2 separate regions of the Homo sapiens genome follow, and region 2 is linked to region 1. The links are contacts of gene promoters, found by promoter capture Hi-C in blood cells and fetal thymus (Javierre and others, 2016). All regions are on one chromosome and are shown on one strand. Each heading gives the region's core, a stretch centred on a gene start or on the middle of the fragment in contact. The rest is flanking DNA. Distances are from core to core; before and after follow the strand shown. Region 1 holds the start of STX11 (syntaxin 11). Region 2 overlaps UTRN (utrophin).

Region 1 (7,017 bases), core at 1,338-3,837:
CAGTTCAAAAGCATCTCAGCAGATTTCAATTGCAACAGTAAACTGTGATACGGTAGATTTATTCATTTTGGCTCACACGGCTATAATGTGATAAAAAACATTGATTTGAACTACAAAAACAATGATCATAAACTCGCTTCAATATAGTGTTACCAATGTATAAACTATTAGGCAGGGCATGGTGGCTCACATCTGCAATCCCAGCACTTTGGGAGGCCAAGGCAAGCAGATCACCTGAGGTCAGCAGTTCGAGACCAGCCTGGCCAACAGGGCCGAACCTTGTCCCTACTAAAAATACAAAAATTAGCCGGGTGTTGTGGTGGGTGTCTGTAGTCCCAGCTACTTGGGACGCTGAAGCACAAGAATTGCTTAAACGCAGGAGGTGGAGGTTGCAGTGAGCCAAGATTGCACCACCACACTCCAGCCTGGGGCAACAGAGTGAGACTCTGTCTCAAAAAACAAAACAAAACAAAACAACCTATTAATTAGTCACACCATTTCCTAAAAGTCATGCTGTTAACTAAAGGTGACTGCAATTGTCCAGGGGTGATAATCAGCTGAATTTCGTTTTACATGGTTATTAAATAACATGAAACATGGTTCATTCAAGCACTTTAAAAACCATACCTTTCAAATTCATACATTTTTAAATCATGTATCAAATGAAGAATAGGCTGCCTACAAAGACAAGTAAATGACTAAACTCAAAAGTTTCCTTGCTCTTCCAGCCATGACCCAGTCCATTCCAAATCCCAGATCTTCAGAAACATCAGTCATATTGGGACAGAAACTTTTCTCTGGGTATAGATTTACCCTAGCACCTATCTCATTATATTGAATTTTCCAGCATATTTAAATAAACTATTAATTAGTCACACTATTTCTTAAAAGTCACACTATCAACTAATCGTGACCGCAATTATCTAGGGGTGATAATCTGCTGAGTCTACTCTTTAAATACACTGGGACCCAGCATATTGAGTTATATTGGCACAGAAACTTCACTCTGGGTATAGATTTACCCTAGTACCTTGCCGGCAGGATCCTATTATTCATGGTTGTACAAGCAAGGTTCAGGGAAGAGGCTGGCACAGAGAAGGTACCTGGTAACTGTTGTTTGAGGCTGAATTCAGCTCAACTCAGCTCCAGTAGAGATGGTGTCCCCTTCTCTACCGTGTTGAGATAGTGTGCAGTCCCTTCCTAAGGGCTGTTACCCACCGCAATAGGACTTGTCAGCTTCAACTTTTAAATTTCTCTGCTCCCGCTGGGACCCACCCGCTTCAAAAATCATCATGTGGTTTTAGCACCAATTTAGTAAACACAAACTGTCTGAAATATTTTGATTTTAGAGAGTTACTTACAATCACCACATTAAATGATACCTTTCTCCCATGCAGTGAAAATGACAGCAAAATGGTCATTGAATAATGAAATTAATTTTCTCTTGGGCATCTGTGGCAAAGCACATGATTTCAATGGTTATCTTAGATCAGCCCAGTGACCTTTACTGGCATGTTGTAACATCAGGCGCCTTAGGAAACTGAAAACTCAATCGTCACTTCCCATACCACTGCCCCAGGTTGGCAGGGCAGGCATTTCACATCTAGAGTCTCATTTTAAAGCAAGCCTCGCTTTTCAAAAGTTCATTAACAAAGTCTCACAATTAAGAGAGCAGCCCTGTGACTCATTTTTGGATACCTGTAAATAACAGCTCCTCCCTCTGCTGAGAAACGGCTGAAACAAGTGCGTGAGAACCACAGGAAGTAATACAGATCTCAGCTGGTGTCAGCGGAGTCTAGAAAAAGGCAGAATTCCCTCTCAGGACGGCGTGGCTCTCGCAGGCATTGCCACTACTTCTCTCCATGTTTCTAAAACAAAGTCTTACGTGGGCTTCGAAGGGACTCCTCGAAGGCTCTATCAATTTCTCCGTCTTTCCTGGCTACTGAGTGACACCGCCAAGTTCAAGTCAAGAAGTACCCATTCTGGTGTTTTTGACACAGTCACCCTACTAGGAAGTGAAGAGGTGATAATAAAAAAACACTCCAGCCTTTCGATTTAAAATAAAAGTAGTCTTGGGTGGACACTTTATAAAGGCAGCCTACCAACAGGTATCCCTAAAATAATTCTTACGAAGCACTAAATCCTAAGTCCCTCAGCCTCTGAAATTAAAAGTAATTTTAAAAAATCATTCTGCTTTATATGAGAAACCCAATGCTGTGTTTCCGAAGGTGCCCAGAGGCGGCGTGAGGACCTGCGCCAGATCCAAAATCCCACCTAAGGCACAGCCGCGGGTCCCGAGCCTAGACAGTGCCCCCGCCCCGACCCGCCCTCCCCGATCTCTCCGCGCACGGGGAAAATAGTCAGGAAGAGAAATGGGGGCTCAGGAAGAGAAAAACAAACCTGGACTGGGAGCGAGAGTGCGAACCGAGAAGCCCCTCTCCCGGCAGGGCGCGCGTCCCCTGTGGGCGCAGCGATGGAGAAGGAAACCTGTTGCGCGACTCCCGGCGGCTCCGCTCCCGGCGCCTCCTGCGGCCGAGGCTGAGTTCCTCCACGGCCGCCCGAGCTCCGCGCCGCCGCGGCCGCATCTGGGCGCCGCCGGCTCAGCCCCCGCCGCTTAGGAAGCGACCACAGCTGGGGACCAGGCCCCGCCCCGGGATGACAGCGCTGGGGCGCGGCGGCAGCCGGCTCACAGAGCGCGGGTTCCCGCCCCACCCAGAGTCCATGCGCTCGGGACCGCCCGGAGCCGGGGACGCGCTCCAGCCCCTCCCGCAAGCCCAGGGGCGTTCCCGCGGGCTGCGCGGACCGGCGCGGGGAGTGGGATGTTTGCCGCCCAAGACACTTCCTCCGCTCGTCCTCTGGTCCCCAGGGCAGGGAGCGCGCTGGACTTCCCCCGGGAATCCCCGCTGCGCTGGTGACATTTGCAGTCCGGTGCGTTGCCGCGGCGAGGACGCTGGAAGCCGTCTCTGAGCGTGGGTGTGGCTGCGGAAGCTGCGGCAGGTCCTGCATCCCTGGGACCCTCGAGGACGCGGGCGAGGAGCCTGCGGTCACACGGAGGCCGAGCACCGCCTTCCCAGAACCCTGCCGACCAACCTCTCTCCAGTCGGCCTCAACACCCGCCGGGCTCATCATTCTCTGGATATCAACTGAGCGTCCCCTTGTGTGCCCACCGCGCTCAAAAATACTGCCAAGACCCACCCTCCAGGTCCCGGCACTTTAACGGGGAGGGATAAATAGAAAGTGTGGATTGTGCCAGGTGGTGGTAAAGCACCTTGAAAAACAAGGCTGAGGCTGAAAAGTAAGGAAGTGATACTCAAAAAAGGAAAAATCGGGCCGGGCGCGGTGGCTCACGCGCGTATTCCTAACACTTTGGGAGGCCGAAGGGGGAGGATCTCTTGAGCCCAGGAGTTTGAGACCAGCCTGAGCGATGTGGTGAAAGCCTATCTCTACAAAAAATAAAAAAATTAACTGGGCGTGGTGGCGCACGCTGTGATCCCAGCTGCTCGGGAGGCTAAGGTGGGAGGATCACTTGAGGCTGAGAGGTCAAGGATGCAGTGAGCCGAGATCGCGCCACTGTACTCCAGCCTGGGCGACAGAATGAGACGCTGTCTCAATTGAATGAGAAGAAAAAAAATAAAACTAAAGAACGAATCCTGCCTTGATGGCAGAATGTTTAGACACAGGAACCACCTGAAAGCTCCCAGTTGCCAAAGATGGAACCATTTGAGCAACGAAGTAAACTAAACAAGGTAGTATTGGATTACAAGCCAAAGTAAAAAAATCCATGAGTCTACACTGATATAAATAAATAATTGAATAAATAAATAAAAGGCGGAGAGGAGACAAATCTCCTATACAGAATAATTCCAAATAATTTATGTAGATCATGTACCCTAGGCTGTGCACAGTGACTTCCTCCAAAATAGTACAATGTGGAAAGGGAAAAACAGTAGGTTTACAATGGAGAAAGCCGACAGACACTACCCCAGCCAGATGTTCTAAGCCAACGTCAACAATCGTGACTCATTGATGGCATGTAGTCAATATGATGTGATGAATGTGGCATATTACATGTGTGGTCTCCCTCCTGGAAAACCATAACCTCAGTCTCATAATGAGAAAAATATCAAACAAATTCCAGTAGTGGAACATCCTACAAAATACCTGACCAATATTCCTCAAAGTTGTCAGGTTATCAAAAGTAAGGAAAGTACAGTCCAGACGTGGCTCACGCCTGTAATCCGTACACTTTGAGAGGCTGAAGCGAGAGGATTGCTTGAGGCCAGGAGTTCGAGGCCTGATCTGGCCGACATAGCCAGATGCTGTCTCTACAAAAAATAAAATAAAATAAGGAAAGTCTGAAAAACTGCCGCAGCCTAGAAGAAACTCAGGAGACGTGAAAACTAAATGTAATGTGGTATCCTGGATGGGATCCTGGGACAGAAAAAGGACTTGGGGAAAAACTAAGGAAATCTAAATAAAGCATGGACTTTCATTAGTAATAAGAATCAAGGTTGATTAATTAGTTGTGAGGAATGTAATGTAAGATGGTAATCATAGGGAAATCTGAAATGGAATTTATGGAAATTCTGTACTACCTTTGCAGTTGTTCTGTAAATCTAAAACGGTTCTAAAAAATACAGTTTATTTTAAAAGAAAGTAAAATAAGAGGGATGAGGTATGTTATATTTTTAAAAATGGGTATATTGCAAAGCCATCTAAGATAAGAGAATCATTGAGGGAGGAAACAATGCAGCTATTGGGATTAAGATCATTTCAAGCCTAGGAATCAGTGGATGTAAAGGCCCCGAGGCAGGAGCATGCTGGGCTTCTGGGAGAAATATCAGCGTGGGCAAAACAGAGTCCAGGAAGAGTGATGGTGGTGGGGCTAGGAGTGGGGAGTAGAGCATGTAGGGCATTGGTAGTCATGATAGTCTTTACATTTTACATTGATTGAGACAGGAAGACTGAAGAATGTTTATCAGAGAAGCTAAATGATGTTGCTGGTTGTTTTTTTAATCTACCGTTTTGTTGAGGACAGATTAAAGGACAAAGATTAAAACAGGCCAACGAGTTAGAAAGCTGTGATGGTTAATTTGATGTGTCAAATTTATTGGACCATGGGGTGCCCAGATATTTGGTAAAACATTATCCTGGGTGTGTCTGTGAGGGTGCTTGCTGATGACATTTTTAATTTTTTTGAGACAGCAGCTCACTCTGTTGCCCAAGCTGCAGTGCAGTGGCATGATCATGGTTCCCTGCAGCCTCGACCTCCCCTGCTCAAGTGATCCTCCCACCTTGGCCTCCCAAAGTGCTGGGTTAACAGGCATCAGTTACCATGCTCAGCTGAGATTAACCTTTGAATCCATGGAGAAGACTGCCTGAAAAAGTAAATTGTGGATGGGGAGGAAAGGTGAAGATTGCTGGGGATTAAGAGTGGCATTTTGGACACCTTCAGTTTGGAGTTGTCAAGTTGTCATGAAGGCAGTTGGTTAGGTGAGTCTGGGATGGTGGTATATATTTGGAGTTCTTTAGCATATAGATGGTGTGCAGACAGAATGGGGATGTCTGAAGTCTGAGTCCTGGCATGCTCCAAAGTTCAGAGGTTAGGAAGATAAAGAATCAAAAAAAGAGAATGAGAAGTTCTGATTAGTGAGATAGATAAACCAAGAGAGAGCACGTTTCAGGAGCCAAATTAAAAAAATTTTTGTAAAAAAGAACAATTAACTGTGAAATGCTGCTACAGTGTGTAAAATTAGGACGGAAAACTGAGGAATGGGCTTGGCCACATGGAGGTCAGTGGTGAGCTTGGTAAGAAGAGTTTTAGTGGGGGATGACCAAAGCCTGTTTGGAGTGAAAGAATAAAAACATCAGATGAAGACAAAGAAATGGAGTAGAAACAGGAAGGAACCATATAGTCAAAGCAGTTTTTTTTTTTTTTAATTAGAAGCTATACATGTTTGTTTGCTCACCAGCATGAACCAAAAGGAATGGAAAGAGGGATGATATGGGGGAGAAAAAATGGGTTACATGCTGGAGCAATGTTCTTGAGTAGATGAGCAGGTGTGCAATCCAATGCACACATGGAAATTTAGGGTAAAACAGAAGAAAGAGTTCATCCCTGGTAACAGGAGAGAACAACTCCAAACTGAATGTGTCCAAAATGCCACACTTAATCCCCAGCAATCTTCCCCTTCCCTCCCCATCCACAATTTACTTTTTCAGGCAGTCTTCCTCATGGATTCAAATGATAATCTCAGCTGTGTGGTAGCCTGTAAACCCAGCACTTTGGGAGGACAGGGTAGGAGGATCACTTGAGCCCGGGAGTTAGAGACCAGCCTGGGCAACATAGGGAGATCTTGTCTTTACTAAAAATCAAAGAATTAGCCGGGTGCGGTGGTGCATGCCTGTTGTCCCAGCTATTCAGAAAGTATGGCAGAGATGCTGGTAAATGTGGAGGCAAGAACATATTTTATCAATGAAATTAAAAGCAAGAGCTGGACGCCGTGGCTCAGGCCTGTAATCCCAGCACTTTGGGAGGCCGAGGCGGGCGAGTCACTTGAGGTTGGCAGTTCAAGACCAGCCTGACCAACATGGAGAAACCCCGTCTCTACTAAAAATACAAAATTAGCCGGGCATGGTGGCACATAATGACAGGGTTTAGAGTATGGCCAATCTGAATTATCTTCCGCAATTGATCTGCTCACACCCAGCTGAAACCCCAGATTATTCTTGTTTTATAAATTTCTCTGGAGACCTTGGCTCTCCCTTCCAGTCTGGAGTTTTTCAGAGATGATGACCGATAAGGACCTTAGGGTGAAGCTCAGATAAAACAGAGCAGGCACTGGGTGCGGGGCGTGGCAGTTGCATGGCGATCTGTCAGCCGTGGCCATCATCCTGCACGCTAGTGCCGTTCCTAATTTACAGAGCTCTAAACCCATTGAATCCCAGGGTTGGAAGGTCCTCTAGCACAGCCACCCTTCTGAGGTGCAACTCCTTCATGGCCCTCAGTCAAATAGT
Region 2 (7,017 bases), core at 2,043-4,542, 260 kb before region 1:
AAATAAATAAAAAGCTCTGACTCTTTATGCATACCAGGCAAGGTCTGTAGGCAAACTCAGGAAACAATATAGCTTATTCCATGTATACACAACTGGCAATACAGTAGAAATGTTTGAAGAAGGCAGTCCTTCAAAAGATAGGCTTCCATGAGACTAGGGTGAGGCACTGGTAATAGCACTGATTATGATAGTGTAAAGGTAAATAAAATCAAAGTTCCTTTGTTCAATATATATAAAGGAGAGGCAGGTACACTGCTCCTTCCCTTCCCTTAGGGTGTCTCCTTAAAACAAAATAGACCCAATTTTTTTGGTCAGGAAATAGATAAATCCAGTCTCCAGTTTTTCAAGCTAAGTTAAACACAGGAGTTGTTGAGAAGGTGGACAAGAGACTATCACAACAAGGCACATCTAGTTGTCTCTCACAGAGACAAGTGTTCATTGTTCTTTCTCCCACTTTACTGAATATTTGTGTGAAATTCTGTCCAGACTTTGACGTCTTTAGCCAACTGCCTGCATGCACTTAACCATACATGCACACTTAATTGTAAATTGTGTTTTCTCTGTATTCTATGTTGGTAACCAGAGGTACCAGTGTTGGCAGGGTTTTTTATTTCTCCAACAAATAATAACAAAAATAAATGTCAGCTTCCCCCTAAGTGTGACTCCCCTCATGGCTGGTGGATGGTTACCTGTGGCAATTGCAGCTAAAAGCTTCCCAGGCCAGATACAGCTGGAAATGGGTCCAGTGTCTCCTTGCTCTGTGTAATAGGTAGAGATTCTCTCCCCTCAACCACTACCTCTCAGCAATCCCCTCTTGATACCTTACTTCCCACCCTGGCATAAGCCCACCCTTCCCTGCACCACCAGAGCCCATCTCTGAAGCTAGAGATGGTGGGGCCACAAGAGGCTGAATGGGAAAGCACAAGGAAGGTGGTCCTGCTCACTCCTTCCTAAGTGAAGGGTGAAAAGTCATTTCCTCCCAGTTGATCAATTTCTAAACTGATCGTCAATTACAAAGACTACCAAATTTGCTTCACAATTATGAATACCAATAGGCTGAATCAAAACCCTGTATTAAGTACTCATCAAAGCATAGCATATTAAATAATACTTGACAGTTTTAATTTTAATCATTTGTTTTTAGTTTTAACCAAGGTGAAGTTCATTTTACAAACAATTTTGAGACAAAAATCAAATTTTAAAAATTCAAATTGAATGAAAACAAAACAAACAGCAACAACAACAAAGCTTGCATAAGTATAGCCAAAGTATCTGGAAGCTGGTGTTTAAGAATATGGAGTACATTTTATTGTTTTCTTTTTAGAGGTATTAGTGAATAGACACAAATTCACATTTCTTTTTAAGGAACCACTTGAATGTGTATGGCTCCTAAAACAATCAGTTGAGTTGCCATATGCATACTCATGAAATAAACCAATGGCAGACCCAATGTGTAACTCTTCAAGCTCAAGCCTCTACTATAGATGGGATTTATCTTCACACAGGAAGCCTGTCAGCCTCTTTACAGTACTAAAGAGAAGACTGAATATCTAGAGGTGGAAAAGGGTTTGGGCTCCTTTTATTGCACCTCCTGTACAAATCTCCCTCCACATCTTTTCCCACCCTTATTTTAGTGATTATTAACTTCCAACATGAAAAAAGTAGGAAAACAATCTAAAAGCAATGTCTCACTGTCTCCTAAAGGAAAACATCTTAATAGCTCTCCATATTGGAATCCATAAAAAATGCTTCATGGCTTTCCTCTCTTACGTTCTGTCAATTTGAATTTCAAGGTTGGAATTGTAACTTACATGAAAACTTGGCTCATCTGTGTCTTAGAAAAGAGAAAAGCAGGGATTTGCACAAACTCAAGTTCAGCATTTTTAATTTTGCATATTTTCTACCTAACCTTTATTTGTGAAGCCTCTTTAGAGAACCATCTCACCAAATGGATAAAAGAACTTCTGCAATTTGTATGTTTTCAGCTCTGCCAGATGAGCAGCTCTGAAAGTCAGCCAAAGAAAATGCAGGCTCAAAGTCAGAGCAAATTTCCCAAAGCAAAGCAATGAGGCCTTTGCTGCCTCCCTTGGGAGACCGGCCGGCTAACAAGCCAGAGGCTCTGAAATTTAGAAGGGGCAAAACACTCAAGTCATACACACCATACAATGGAAGAACGCGGGCTTAATGAGCCAGTGCTTTTTCCCTTTTCTGTTTACGTGTGGCACGGATCCACAGATCAGGACTATCACAGATTCGAGGTATATGATAGGGTTTTTATTTTGCATTCCTAAGTAATTATCATCTCCTATACACTTCTCAGCAATGCCTCAATATTTCTTCACGATATAAGGAAGGTAATAATGATCGATTGCGTCTTATGGCTATGGAAATGTAGACCAGGTGATCTGAAAAAATTGACTAATAATTTGCCTGAGGTCATAAATAAATGAGCAGGATATCCAGAAATAAGTGTTTAATTTCCTAATTTTTAGCTTTTTTTAGATAATCACTTTTTCTGAGCTCTTCATAACTTTTAAAAATCCAAGAGCCATAATTTACTCTACACTATGACTTCTCAGGATCCTGAATTCCAAAGCACTGTATACTCCATGATATGTTCACAAGGATTTGCAGCAAAAAGAATACATATTTTGAGTGAGCACTGTCTTGGTTACTGTATATTCATTTACAGTTACAAATTAAAAGATGGTTTTAGACTGATATTATTCTCAAGTTCTTTACCAAATCCCTTATCAAGAAAAGAATTGTTCTGGCTTTAAGTTTTAAGTCTTATTTTTCTTCACAGTGAATTTAATAGTTAGACCCTATGTGAAGAATTGTATTGGGTAAATAAAACAATAATATGCATTAAGTCCAAGTGGTTATTTAACAATCACTGCAGCACAACTCCAAGAAATCAGGTAAATAGGGAAAGTTTGGATAGCTGGATTTGTTTATTTTTGTCAATAATGCAGCAAAAGTCCTGATGCATTGTATTCATATCCAGGACTTAGCACAATTCATGCCATGTTGCACTCAGTCCTAAACTCTACTCCTGTCTCTCCAATGCAACCATCCCCAAGTGGCTTATGAACATATAGAATTAGGCATATTCAATGTATGTCTATGTCATTGTCATTCATTTATTTATTAAGCCTACAAATAGTTTACTGGATACCTACTAAATGCCAAAAGATATGCCAATAAGCAAATAGAAAGTCCCTGCACCCACAGAGTTTATGTCTAACCTAGGAAAAAAGGCTGGCAACTATTTAAATTACAGTATGGTAAGTGCTTCAAATCATAACACTTTGAGAGTATACAGCTTATCTACCCTAGTCTGGGAGCTCAGAAAAGAGATCCTTCAGGAAGCAACATTTAAGCTCAGACAAGCAGGAAGGGGTAGGAGCTGGCCAGGAAGAGATAGAGAAAGGACTGTGTGCAAAGGCCAGGGAGGGCCCACCGGGATGGTAAGCAAAGGCCGTGTGGCTGGAGCAAAATGAGGGAGCGAGAGGAAAGTAAAATAAAATTAGGAGTAAATTGGGAGGCAGCTATTTAGAGCTTTAAGAACCAAGTAAGACCAAAACATCACACTATATACCAAAAATTATACAATTTCAATTTTTAATTGTGTTTTTTAAAAAAAGGAAAATGGGCACCCAACGAAAGAGCTTACAGAAGAGAAAAAGGTATTCAGGTTTACCCTTTAGAAGCACCGTAGATACTCTCTTGAAAATGGAAGGGGAGGCCGGGCGTGGTGGCTCACGCCTGTAATCCCAGCACTTTGGGAGGTCGAGGCAGGCGGATCACTTGAGGTCAGGAGTTTGAAACCAGCCTAGCCAACATGGTGAAACCCCATCTCTACTAAAAATACAAAAATTAGCTGGGCATGGTGACATGCGCCCATAATCCCAGCTACTAGGGAGGCTGAGGCAGGAGAATCGCTGCAACCTGGGAGGCAGAGGCTGCAGGCTGCAATGAGCCAAGATTGCACCACTGCACTCCAGACTGGGCAACAGAGCTAGACTGTGTCTCAAAAAAAAAAAAAAAAAAAAAGAAAAGAAAAAAAAAGGAAAGGGAGATGGAGAAGGTGGAGCATGGAATGGAAGAACCAATTAGCAGATTATCACAGTGGTCCATGTATTCAAGGATAATTTTCCAACAAGGTAAAGTCATAACTCTCAAACCAATGTGATAATAATGTCTGTCAAAGATTTATTTAACTCATTAATTAATGAGGGACCCAGTAAGCTGTTACAACCAGTTCAGGGGAAAATTTTTAAAAACACATGTTTTACACAAGAAAAATGAAAACTGAAATAGATTTGCAATAGATGCAAAAACTGGTCTATCCAAGGAGTAATAATTAACTGCTTTACAAATAATTTTCATTTTTATGGATAAGAATCATTTGCATACCTATTTTCCACAACTTACCTAGTCGTAAAGTAGCTCAAAAGTAATTAAAGGCAGAGATAATTCAGATGCCTGAGCTAACAGGACACCCACTAGTTTTTTGCCCATTGTAAAGTCTCTCACCATTTTTTCTAATACAAATAACAATGCCTTGGAAAAGAGACGTGTCACTCTACATAGAGTAAGTGGACAATTTTGAATATATGTAGGTATTGGAATTAACAAGGCTCGATGTTTGATTGACTTTTGATGGGGAGGAGGCCACAAAGGAAATATCTAGACAAATGTCTGTTTTAAAACAAATTCCTAAATGGCAGAAGGTGCCATCAGTGTCTGTTTGGATTTCTCAGCACAGAGGTCCTGTTGCTCTGTTTAGGAACCCACACTGTAGGGAAGTAGTGGACCCACTGAAAAATTATATTGTAAAACCCACCACAATGTACCAAAGGACATGGATTTTTAAAAATGAAAAAAAAAATTCGTTCCCTTCAACGGGATTTATTTTTTTTTCTTGTTCTATCCTCGCATTACCTAGTAATACCAGGCATGAATACGGTCTTTCCCCAGCTCAGCAAGAGTTAAGCCACATGGGAGTCTATGGAAATCTCCCAGTCTAGAAATGTGTTACTCCCTCTTTCACTATCCCCAATTGGAAGCAATCCAACTTATGGTCTTAAGACAGCCAGAAGAAAGAAAAAATAATGTGGATGTTTAGTGTCACTGCCATGAGCTTCCCATCTCCAAATATTCATAATTTCTCAGATAAATTCCTTCTAGGTTTTGATTTCTTGCTAGATGAAAATAAAAGTTTTCAGAGTCATCCCACGTTTGGTAGTTTTTCTCCAAACACCATCTCCAAACACTAACACAGAAGCTGAGCTTAGAAACTACCATCTCCAAACACTAATAGAGAAGCTTTTAGCTAAAACTAACTATAACTTTTACTAAAAATGATAAAAATTACCAAGTCTTTTCCAGTATCTTGGTAAGAAATACAAATATTCCAGGGCAAACAATTTACATGGGACTTAAAGCCCCATTTAATTGCAAAATAATAGACATTATAAATGCACAAATTTAAATATCAAGTTCATTTAATAAACTAGTCTGGTACTACCAGATTTTGTTTTCTTTGAGGTCTTTTTAAAGGTGTCAATGACCCACCATAAATATTGAGAAATTTCTTTTCAATTATTCTGTCTCAGTTGTCATCTCTCTTCCTCTACAAACCCTTTCCATGTCCTATTTTACTACCTATTTCTCTCCATTTTCATAAATAGGTAAAAAGTAATTTACCCAGTTTCAAATGCTCTCTAAACTTAGGTCTACCAAGTTTAATGCTTTCAAAACAATCTTCAAAATTAGTTCTAAGGCAATTCTTCCCCAAAGACTAAATTAAGCTGCTAAAAACTGCTTCACTTGTTCTATCTAAACAATTACTGTGTTATCCTCGTGAATAACCAGGAAAAATAATCTTACTTTTATGAGCAATCATAAGACCACTGGAATAAAACACCTCATATCCAGACTCCCAGTTGCTAAAACTACATTCTCTGGAAAATGGTCACATGCAGATGAATAGTTCAAAAGTTTTTATTCATGTCAAGCCCGAGATGCACATATGTTACCTGTGTCTCTGGAATAAAACAAACTAAAATTTACCAAAACACACCTGCATGTGATTTGGAATAATCCTACACATATAACTGCCAATTATGCAAGCACCTTTATGTTCTAATTCTCTGTATTTTTAACCCTCTGTCAAAGTTGGTTTTCATGTTCCTTACATACTCACAGGCAAGATAAAATACCCCTCAAGATAAACTCGCAAAGCCCAAAAAGCAGTGAAATCAAATAACCAACTATAAATATTGGGACGTGGAGCATTTTTTAAACTATGCTGCTACTCAAAGTAACCTTAAGATATCCTCATTTTTCCTCAAGAAATACCAATGTTTGTCTCTCTGACCTTTACAACTTTTGAAAAGCAACCAAAAATTTTGAAAAGCAACTCTTCATTAAAATAGCTTTTATACTATTTAAAAGACCACAACAGTGTTTCTCTGAGAAACTTCTATTTTTCATCTTGTTGTAGAAGAGTCCTAAACAATCTGTTATCCTGAAAACTCTCCTCCTACCTCAGGCTTAGTGCACAAAATTCCAACACCAATAACTAATAGATAATCATATTAGAACAGATTTGAAAATAGCACTGACAATTCCTCTCTTCAGCATGCTCTGCCCCTATGAAAAAATATTGCTCAAAGCATTGATTATGTTCTAAATGGTTAGAAATGCTAAGAGTAGATCTTTGGGGTGGGGGAGGAATTAAGGAAGTACACAAGAAAAAACAACCCACAAGGCAGATAAATATTATTAGCCACATCCACAAGAATAAAAATCCATAAATATTTCTGACAGGGTAGAAAGACTGCCTGAATTATAACATTTGGTTTTAACCAGGCAAAATGAAATCATCATCCTCTTAACCAAGAGAACTCAAAAATTTTCCCAATGATATATTCTTTTCCAAGATGTACCCAGGATTCACAGAATCGAAAGCAGCTAACTGCTGCCTTAGATATCTGGAGAAGGCCAGGT

Evidence for each region. Contacts are between HindIII fragments. The CHiCAGO score rates a contact against its expected background, and 5 or more counts as called.
Region 2: a contact is called between a fragment that was not itself captured here and the fragment with the promoter of STX11 in region 1, in 1 of 17 cell types (naive B cells). The highest score is 5.9, in naive B cells.

What each region holds. Positions count from the first base shown.
Region 1 is chr6:144,146,087-144,153,103 of GRCh38, reverse strand. STX11 (syntaxin 11) reads right to left here and starts at 2,587. Exons shown (of 2, transcript NM_003764.4): 1 at 2,401-2,587. RefSeq lists a silencer at 2,461-2,900. The HindIII fragment of the contact is 10,810 bases long and covers 1-7,017 here.
Region 2 is chr6:144,403,396-144,410,412 of GRCh38, reverse strand. The region is part of intron 3 of UTRN (utrophin); the gene reads right to left. SNORA98 (small nucleolar RNA, H/ACA box 98) reads right to left here and starts at 4,758; the gene lies at 4,646-4,758. The HindIII fragment of the contact is 4,083 bases long and covers 1,251-5,333 here.